3 separate regions of the Homo sapiens genome follow, and regions 2 and 3 are each linked to region 1. The links are contacts of gene promoters, found by promoter capture Hi-C in blood cells and fetal thymus (Javierre and others, 2016). All regions are on one chromosome and are shown on one strand. Each heading gives the region's core, a stretch centred on a gene start or on the middle of the fragment in contact. The rest is flanking DNA. Distances are from core to core; before and after follow the strand shown.

Region 1 (3,432 bases), core at 695-3,194:
CAGTCCTCGTTTCTGAAATTGGTCCCCTGACTGGGGCTATACCTATTCCATTTCCTCACCCTCAGCCAGGCAGGTGGAGCAAAACTTAAGTCTTGGTGGATCTGAATCTTGATGCTGTGGAGCTGTCTTACTAGCCCCAGACTACCTGCCTCTCAATTTCTAATTATATCAGTGAAAGCAAACAGCTTTGATTTGTTTAAGCCTCTGATTTTTTGGTCTAACTGATGTAAGACCACAAGACAAGAGTTCTCCAGCTCCGGATTCTCTTCTGTTCTGTTAATGGTGAAATGCCCAGAGAAGAGTTGCCAACTTTGGCAAATAAAAAATACAGGATTCCAGTTAAATTCAAATTTTAGATAAACAACAATTTTTTAGTATTAGTGTGTCCCATTCAATATTTGGACATACTTAACTAAAAAATGATTTGTTGTTCATCTGAAATACAAATTTAACTGGGCATTCTGAATATTCTCTGGCAACCCCCGAGAGAGTGAAGAAAGTGGTACAAGGACACTTAAGAAGACCAGATTTGAAAAGACATTACGGATGTGTTTAAATGTCTTATTCTAGAGAGAGTTAGAGCTGTAGGTAGAACTTGGGAAATTAAGTTAAAAGCAACAGAGGACCTGGCCAATATATACTAAGGAGTGGATCACTCTGGTCACAAGCCCAACCTGAGACCAAGGGCATAGTGAGATGATTTGGGAAAGGCACTTATACACTACTCATCCCCGTCTTTGAACTAAATGCCTTATAAATCTCCAAGAGAAATGACAGTCCACCATGTGGACTGCTTTCTGTAAGTCCAGGGAAAATAAAAGCTATGTGCTTGAAACCCACTTCTGATATTATAAGGTGTGTGATCTTTGTCATGTTAATGGGTCTGAGTATCAATTCTACAATTGTAAAGTGACAGTAATGGTGTGTCCCCAGGTTGTTGTGGAAAGCTTGATTCTTAATGCAACAGTAGGAAACCCCAACCTCTCTGGAGCAAACACCCTTCTACATCTTTACTTCCCCTGCACATTGGCAGGACTCTATTCCTCTATTTCTCTCTAGTGCTAGAGCAGAAAGGGACCTTGATTTGATATCAGGAAAATCTATTTCTGAACCATAAGCTATGATAGCTGATTTAAAAAATTGACTATCATGACATGATAATGATCATAATGGTAATACATATTGATAGGGTTGCCGTGAAAGTAATAATATATCTAAGAGTTGTGACAATATATGATACACCTAGACTCTCAGAAAATGCTAATTCCAATCCCAATTGCTCTTTGCATAAAGTTCTGTCCTAGGGTCTGTTCTTTTCCCACATCTACCCTCCTTGGATCTCTCTTCTGTCAAAAACATGTGGTTCAGAGGAGGAGAGAGATCCAGGTCAATGTTTTTCAAATTACAAGGAATTATCATTTAAATGGGGTTGTTGCTCAAGTTTTGACGTGTAGTGGAATGGAGTGGAGTGGAGTGGAATGGAAACTAACAGAAAACACTGCACATGGTTAAGATAAAGATTGTTTCCTGAAACCTTTAATTTGTGCTTACATACTCACACATACATATGTGCATGCACTGGGACTCTGCAATATGCATTTCTGACTATGGAACATAGCCATAAAAGTCTTTGCACTGAACGTTCAGTGGGCCTTTCACAAGCTGCCCTAATTGGGAAAGAAAAACATGGTCCCTCCATTTCCTGCCCCCAACTCCAGAAAAGTCACCATAGTTGAGGGTACATCTGAGAAGCCAGCACTTGGGAGTTCAGGGCTCAAGTTCCTTTCTAGAAAAACACTGGGTGATTCTAGGGGAACTTCTGATCAGAAACAGCCAATTCAGAGTGAGAGAAGAAAACGTGACCATGCAGTTCCTGTGGTTACCAGCCTTGCCCCTCTCTTGCCTTCTGGGAGTTATAAAACCCAAGACTGGAAAGGAAAACCAGCATTTGCTCAGGCAGCCTCTCTGGGAAGATGCTGCTTCTTCCTCTCCCCCTGCTGCTCTTTCTCTTGTGCTCCAGAGCTGAAGCTGGTGAGTATCAGGGTTCTTCCCTCTGAAATCTGCAGTATCAGCTCCTGAAACAAAGATGTTTAGTCTGAAAATAGCTGACTCCTAAACAGGGTTCCAAGATCTCTCTTCAAGAGTCCCAGAGGGAAATTTCCACTTGGGATGTGTGCCACCCCACCCCCACCCCCACCCACTGCCATTCTCTACAGCCTAGGACAGCCCCCAGGAACAAGGAATTTCACCTCAATTGTAGAAAAGCCCAGAGCAAGTGGAAGGAAAAGGGGTATCCCCAGGAAAACAGACATGTCCTCTTAATCTTCTGAGCATCAGGGCTACCCATTACTTTGTGACTTTCTCACTCTGTGACCATGCTCAAGAGCTATGGAGAAATCTAAAACAGGAACCTGGACAGTGGGTCCTACACAGAGACAGAGGAGGGTGGGCCAGGGCAAGGTGGGAGTGGGAGAAGTCTGAGATGAAAACATCAGAATGGAGCAGAGGCAAGAATGAGATTTCACCTGGGAGGTTATGGGTGGGGAAAGATACGAAATACAGGAGACAGGAGAGGGAAGATGGGCGGAACACAGGGTGAGAATGAGATTCCAGGGAAGCCTAGCTCAGCTTTAACCCAATTTGTCCATTCATTGGAGAGAGTATCTATGGCCGTGTTCAAACCCTGGGGTGCTCTGTTCCAGGGGAGATCATCGGGGGCACAGAATGCAAGCCACATTCCCGCCCCTACATGGCCTACCTGGAAATTGTAACTTCCAACGGTCCCTCAAAATTTTGTGGTGGTTTCCTTATAAGACGGAACTTTGTGCTGACGGCTGCTCATTGTGCAGGAAGGTGAGACAACAGGGTCTATTTATCTCCAAATGGGAGATGAACAACCAGAGTAGCATCCAGGAATACACCTGCACTGGGGACTGAAGAGGGGGTCCTGGGTCTTGTCAACTTTCAGGAGAGGGAAGACTTGGGCTGAAAGACTTTAGTCTGTGTTTGAATAGTTCCTTGAGCCTCAGTCACTGTGAGCTAAGCTCCCCTTCGGAGGAAAAGGAGGTCCTGTCCAAGGTCCCTCTTGTTGCAGTAGCACCCCTCACCCCTACCCAACTCAAGACACACGGCTCACTTTTCAGGGCCCCACCCAGTCTCAGGGCCACTTCCTCTATGGCCTTTTCAAGAACACTGGCCTCTAGTTCTCAGGGTCCTGAACCCATCATTTTATGGGAGGCAGAGAACAGGGTCTACATGAGACCCCCACTTTCCCGTTTAACTGATATCTCCTGCTTCAGGGGCTGGCCCTCATGCAGGGTTCCCTGAATTAGGAAGTGTGAACCCTGTCCCCTGAGTCCTCCCTGGCCTGTTCAGTCCCCAGCAATTCCAGGGGTCGTAGAAATTGTGTCTGTTTCCTGAGAAAGCTCTTTC
Region 2 (3,432 bases), core at 474-2,973, 180 kb before region 1:
ACTTAATGGGTACGATGCACATTATTTGGGTGATGGTTACACTGAAAGCCCAGAATTGACCACTATGCAATATATCCATGTAACAAAACTGCACTTTGTACTCCTTAAATGTATACAAATTTTTTTAATGAACCTAAAATGAGATGGTTGAGCTTCCAAATGTTCTGATGTGACACTCACTCACTCAGACATTGCTATCTGTGACCTGTGGCTAGCTAATGAAACTTTTTTTTTTTTACACTTTAAGTTCTAGGGTACATGTGCACAATGTGCAGGTTAGTTACATATGTATACATGTGACATGCTGGTGTGCTGCACCCATTAACTCGTCATTTAGCATTAGGTATATCTCCTAATGCTATCCCTCCCCCCTCCCCCCACCCCACAAGAGTCCCCAGAGTGTGATGTTCCCCTTCCTGTGTCCATGTGTTCTCATTGTTCAATTCCCACCTATGAGTGAGAACATGCGGTGTTTGGTTTTTTGTCCTTGCAATAGTTTGCTGAGAATGATGGTTTCCAATTTCATCCATGTCCCTACAAAGGACATGAACTCATAGCTAATGAAACATTTCGAGATCCAAAAGCTTACAATCACCACTTGTCCAGAAAAATGTTGCTGATACATTTGATGTGTAGTCTACAGGGGCTTTTACTGTCCTTTAGAGAAGTAGATTTCTTTTGATTTACCCAAGTGTATAAATTTCTAATACTGATCTTTCTGTCACTCTGAACCTACTATTGACTTGACCATGTAGAATAGAAACCCAGTGTCTGTGTAGGAACCAGGACGTTGCAGGGTTTGGGGCAGGGACTAACAAGATATAGTTTGCATGCTTCAAAGATCTCTCTGTCTTCTGTATGAGGAATTTATTCTAGGGAGGCAAGAATAGAAGCAGGGAGACAAGTTAGAAGATTATTAGGATGATGGTGCTGGCGATGGTAAGAAATCGGGATGTATATTGAAGGTAGAACCAGCAGAATTTACTCATGCATTGACTATGAAAGGGAAAAGCGAATCAAATAAAACTTGGAGGTTTCCTCCTGATTACCTGGGAGAATACTGATGGTATTTATTGAGGTATGGAAGGCAGGGCATAACAGGTTGGGGTGAACAGAGCACTCAGGAGTTTTGTTTAAGGCATATTAAATCTGAGATGCTTATTGGACATCTCAATAGCAATGTTGGGTAGGCAGTTAAATATATGTTTGGTGCTCAAAAGGAAGAGATGCCAGTGCTAAAGACATACATCTGGGAGTCTTAGAAGATTGTATTATTGACCCCAGCTATTTGCTCTCTTTCTGGTCATGTGACTTTTTCTTCCAGGGATGACTATACCTTCCTTCCTCATGGAATTTATGAGCATGTTCTGGCCACCCAGATGTAAGTTTCCTATGTCAAACTAGAAGTTTCTGATGTGATTATCTGGTTTACCTCTGTTTCTATTGTTCCTGCTCTCCACACTATAAGAACAATATGTCCAAGATAAGGGTGGCTACATCAGTTCTGGGTCCTGAAATAAAAAGACGCATGGACTTGAACACAGTCAAGCTGAGCTGAGTCACAGATAATCCCTCAGCCCTCATGTAACATGAACAAGAAATCAATAAATGTTTATTGTTGTTAAATACTGATATGTTGGAGTTATTTGCAACCTCAGTAAAGGCCAACTAATAAAAAAATTGGTAACAGAAGTGCTACCATATCTAAAAATATAAAATATGAGGCATTAACTTTAGGGCTAGGTAGCAAGGGAATTCTTCCAGGAGGTTGGACAAGTAAGATTCATGATATGCAGTCGTGAAAAGTTTGGTCAAATTGTGTCTTCTAAACTTGGAAGGCAGATAATGTTCCTAATGGACTTGCTGCATATGGACAAATATAGAAGGATTGAAAAATTGAAAGAGAGCATGATGGTAATATGAATAAGAGGTGAGCTCAGAAAGAATTCACCTATTTCAATGAATGAGATGGAAAATAGGCAGCAAAGAAATTCTGGGCCTTCAAGTTTGGACAATAAAATCCTTCTCACCTCCCACCTATAAAATATAAAATTTAAGTATTCCTTGAAATAGAAAGGCCTTTTAATACTCCATCTCAGGGCAAAGACAGAACCAAAGGTGTCATCATCAGGCCTATGTTAAGATTTCTGGTTGGATTAAGGTGACTTGCAGACATTTTTTTTTCCACCACTGGACAAAACGGCTCAGGGAAAAGAGATCAAGAGTACGTTCCTATGAAAGCATGATATACCCACATACCCATAATCAAGTCTAGAGAAAGTCTTTCTTGAAATGAGTAATGGTTGTGTCTATTGGAACATGGATCCAACCAGTACCAAATAGATTAAAACAATACAACAAAGTGTTTGAGAGAGTTAGGTTGTCAAAAGTGCTGCCAGTCTGTGACTATTTGAAAAGCAAAGTTGGCCCTTAGGCTAATTTGCTTTTAAATGACTTTAGAGATGGGGTCTTTTTCTGTCACACAGGCTGGAGTGCAGTGGTGTGATCACAGCTCACAGCAACCTCAACCTCCTGGGCTCAAGTGATCCTCCTGCCTCAACCTCCCAAAGTGCTGGAATCACAGGTGTCAGCCAGCCCTTAGGCTAAGTTTTTATGGGCAAGAATATGATGTATTCTGAGGGAAGAAAATATATGTGATCAATGTTGGATCATGATAGATTATTATTCCCAATTATTTGTTCCCATAGTCTAATAGGATGATTTATCCTCACTCACTTTCTGTCATGTGAGTTGTCTTCCCTCTTCGGAGAGACAATGTGTCTCCACTTCACATATTTGGATACATGAAATAATTCAGTTAATAAGATGTGAGGACATGTACATATCTGAGAAAAAGCTTTAAATATGATTTCATGGTTTGTGTTGCACTCTCTTGCTCTATTTTCCACAATAAGACAACGTATTCCAGAAAAGGGCTCTTCAATCTAGGATAAGTCACACTGAGTTTAGCAAAGCTAAGCAGAGCCACAGCTGACCCACAGCCTTAGCGTAAATGGTCAAGAAATAAATCGTTTTTGTAAGGCAGTGAGATATTGGGGCTACCTGCTACTGTGACAGTAGTTAGTTAACACAGGAGTCATCTGTGTATGGGTAATGTATTTAAGGCCATAGAACTCAATGAGATTACATAGGGAATAAGCACAGATAAAGAGACAGACTGAGCCTGGGAAGAGGAGACTCCAGGAAAACAGACTGAGAAACCATGGACAAAGATGTTAGAAGGAAGCAGGAAAGAACCAGATGAGAGGCCAGTAAAAAAACAAACAAACAAACAAACGTGCTTTATGAAAGACAGCATAGTCCATAGTGTCAGACACTGCTGAGGAAAAGAAAAAGATACAGAAATGATACTAAATTTAGCAAGGAGGAGGATATTGATGACTTTAACAAAGATGATTTCCATTAATTGGT
Region 3 (3,432 bases), core at 552-3,051, 150 kb before region 1:
GTTGCTATAATTTGGCTATCCCCTATATCAGCTCACAGCAACAGAAAGATTCATAATTTGCAAGAAATAGCATCTCCAGCTTTGATCGAAGGCCCACCATGAACTCTTTATGAGGTTCCAGCTGTGGCTACAGTGACTATAAAAAATCAACGGCTCTTTCTACACAGCGAACCCTAGAAGGGTGATTTGTGGTTACAGCAGTTAATTGCAAGTTTGTGGTTATTGAGTAATCACAGTACGTTCACAGCCCTAACTCATTCCCTCAATATTTTTCATCTTTCTATGACATTTCTTCAAGGTATTATCTTGTTTTTATCAAATTTAGGGCACTGAAAATGTTGCCAAGGTTTTTTATCATGACTAACTCAGGCCACGTTGGAAGGTCTACCATCCATCTGAAAGCCATAGCACAGAGGGTTTTCACACATGGATTCCACCCACCAAGCTCCTGGTGTCTGCCTGTTGCAGGTTTCCCCAAGTGTATCATTTGTGCCCTCCTCCCTTTCATCTGGTCAGAGTTCAGGTTGGAAGCAAGATGCCAGAGGCAAACGTTGAGGTGAAGCATCAGGCATGTAGTGTGCAATCGTTTTATAATAAAGAAACTTTTTTTTTTTTTGAAATGGAGTCTCACTCCGTCACCCGGACTGCAGTGCAGTGGCACGATCTCCACTCACTACAACCTCCGGCTCCCGGGTTCAAGCAGCTCTCTGCCTCAGCCTCCTCAGTAGCTGAGATTACAGGCACCTTCCATCATGCCCAGCTAATTTTTTTTGCATTTTTAGTAGACAGGGTTTCACCATCTTGGCCAGGTTGGTCTTGAACTCCTGACCACGATCCACCTGCCTCAGCCTCCAAAAGTGCTGAGATTATAGGTGTGAGCCACCGTTCCCGGCTAAGAAATCTTTATAATAAAGAAAAAACTGGCATGGAAATTACATAAAATAAAGACAGTTAGTGGAATTCCTAAAGATGAAAATCTATTCTTTATATAAAAAGGCAACACTGAAGATAAACAATTAGTCTTCATTTTAGAATGTCATGTTCCTAGAAAGGAGCCTTAATGATGGAAGGTAGAGATATGCAGGAAGGGGCCTGAACATCACTCAATTTAAAAACAACCATTAAAACGTAGACAAAGGGGATGAGATCAAATGTCAGAAATCAAATAATCTGTGGAGAGACATAAAAAGTTGCATGGATTTGCTGCATAAACTTAGAAAAATGCAAAAATTCACTTGCAGATAATTAATTCATTCTAAGTTTCCTCCAAGCCTGATTCACTGGAGATCTCAAGAAGCTACTGGAAAGTCACTCTTTTATTCTATCACTCATCCTTCAACAGTCTTCTGAGTATCTACTAAGTAACTTACAAACTATCGGTTTCTCACTACCTCTCTCCTTATGACTCCATACTCATCCCATGCCTTAACATCCACATCTTGTGTATTTTGCATCATTTCCTAACATCTGCATCATTCCCTGACAACATAAAAGCTCTCCATTGTCCTCAAGACTGTCATTGAGCACGCCATAGTGGACATTCAATTATTCCTTGGCTGTTGTTGCCATCACTGTCTGGTTGGATAATCACATAACTGCAATACAAGAATAATGAAGTATATGGAAGTGTGAAAGAAAAGACAGTCTCTTTTGAGACCAGCAGTTTCTTCTGGAGGACTGAGCCACAGCTCTTCCTTTGTCACTAAATTATTTGCCAATATAGACATCTCATTTTCCCAATGATGTGCTTTGCCTGTAGAAGGCATGTATGAGTTCGTTCTCACATTACCATGAAGAAATACCCGAGACTGGGTAATTTATAAAGAAAAGAAGTTTAATTGACTCACAGTTCTGCATGGCTGGGGAGGCCTCAGGAAACTTACAATGGACACAGAGCCAAACCATATCAAAGCACAAGACAGTCTTCCTTCCCTCACTTGGGCTGAGAATCTCAGAATGTTCTTTATAAGGCTGCAATGCTGGCTTTACTCTACCAATGGGAAGTATTTAGGTGAAATTCCTGGTCAGTCTCCCAGAAACATATTGTAAAAGGGAAAAAGAAAAGACCCTCTTATCACATACCTTAGTTAAACAGAGGGGAGAAATATTTAAAGAGTTCCAGGAGATAAAAGACTTTTTGTTTTTCTTTTAGAAATAGGGTCTTGCTATGTTGTGCAGTGGTTATTCACAGGCATGATCATAGTACACTACAGCCTCAAACACCCAGGCTCAAGCAATCCTCCCGTCTCAGCTTCTTGAATAGCTGGTACTATAGGACACACCACCTCACTCAGCTGAGAAAAACAAAATTAATGGCATGATGTCCAAGGAAATTATCTTGTTTTAATTTATGAGAAGATTCTGTCTTACCTTTTAACTTCCAGCCTGAGACAAAGGAAGAAGTATCAAAAATTGTACTTTCCCACTTTGTCCTATCCGGACTCCTATAAAAGCAGAGCCTGAAGCAAGGATAAAAATGATAACAATTTGTTTGGGAGGTACAAATCCAGGGCAATGATAGTGAGGAAAAAGAATGAGTCAAGTAAAGATGCCATGCAGTTTGGTGTGTTATAGTACCATAGCTGCCCACTACTTCACAACAAGCTGCTAAGAGACAAGGCAAGTTGCTTAGCAAGCTCGGACATTCAGCATGTGGGACTTACTTCTCTAGAACAATCTCAAGGAGTGTCACAGGAAAGAATAGCATTCAGTGTCTGAAACAAAAAGCTAAGTTTATTGCTCGCTAGGCAAGGGAGAACAATATTTGTAAAGTAGTGCCTCTGAACCAAGAAAGAACTGATCTTATACGGGATTCGGGAAATGTGAAATCTAGAAATTAGTGTTCTCTCAGAAGTGGGCTTTAGAGGATTTTCCACTATGTAAGTATGGACACTGGAATGACGTTGTAGCTGATTGGTTCAGCTACATCTCTCCTCTCAGCTGTCACTCAGGAAGCCAGGTTTCATGCCTTATAGTATGCTGTTTCATCCAAGTCCAAACATGAAGTAGCAACCTGGTATAGATGGAGCACCAACTGAGAGGAAGAAAAAAGGAAAGAAATAGTACTGCTTGTTTAGTCATGGAACATTAAGTTAGCAGATGACTTAGAGAGCCTGGTCCTGGACCGTGAAGACTAAGGCACAAACCTTTCTTGATGAGGGGACCAAAGTGGGGTTTATCCACAGGGAATAATATCCCAGAATTACTAGGAATCTCAGTTCCTCTTCTTTCTCAGTTTTCCTTCAAAAACGAATGGAACTCTTGGCCCCAAACTACTATCCCCACACTGCCCTCCATAAACGTCTGATTCTGATTTTACCTAAAACGTGAAGAAGCCAAAGCCTTTTCACTGTGCAACTCATGAGAGACCATTACAATGATCCCTCTTGTCAGGGATTTACCACACCTGGACCCACTACATAACAGTAATTT

What was found. Contacts are between HindIII fragments. The CHiCAGO score rates a contact against its expected background, and 5 or more counts as called.
Region 2: a contact is called between a fragment that was not itself captured here and the fragment with the promoter of CMA1 in region 1, in 1 of 17 cell types (M0 macrophages). The highest score is 6.0, in M0 macrophages.
Region 3: a contact is called between a fragment that was not itself captured here and the fragment with the promoter of CMA1 in region 1, in 1 of 17 cell types (M2 macrophages). The highest score is 5.2, in M2 macrophages.

What each region holds. Positions count from the first base shown.
Region 1 is chr14:24,506,777-24,510,208 of GRCh38, reverse strand. CMA1 (chymase 1) reads left to right here and starts at 1,944. Exons shown (of 5, transcript NM_001836.5): 1 at 1,944-2,031; 2 at 2,703-2,853. The coding sequence starts at 1,974. RefSeq lists an enhancer at 2,136-3,335. The HindIII fragment of the contact is 2,718 bases long and covers 950-3,432 here.
Region 2 is chr14:24,683,015-24,686,446 of GRCh38, reverse strand. No RefSeq gene overlaps it. Among named protein-coding and RNA genes, the nearest start is that of GZMB, 51 kb to the right of the region's middle. The HindIII fragment of the contact is 2,273 bases long and covers 587-2,859 here.
Region 3 is chr14:24,657,127-24,660,558 of GRCh38, reverse strand. No RefSeq gene overlaps it. Among named protein-coding and RNA genes, the nearest start is that of GZMB, 25 kb to the right of the region's middle. The HindIII fragment of the contact is 9,501 bases long and covers 1-3,432 here.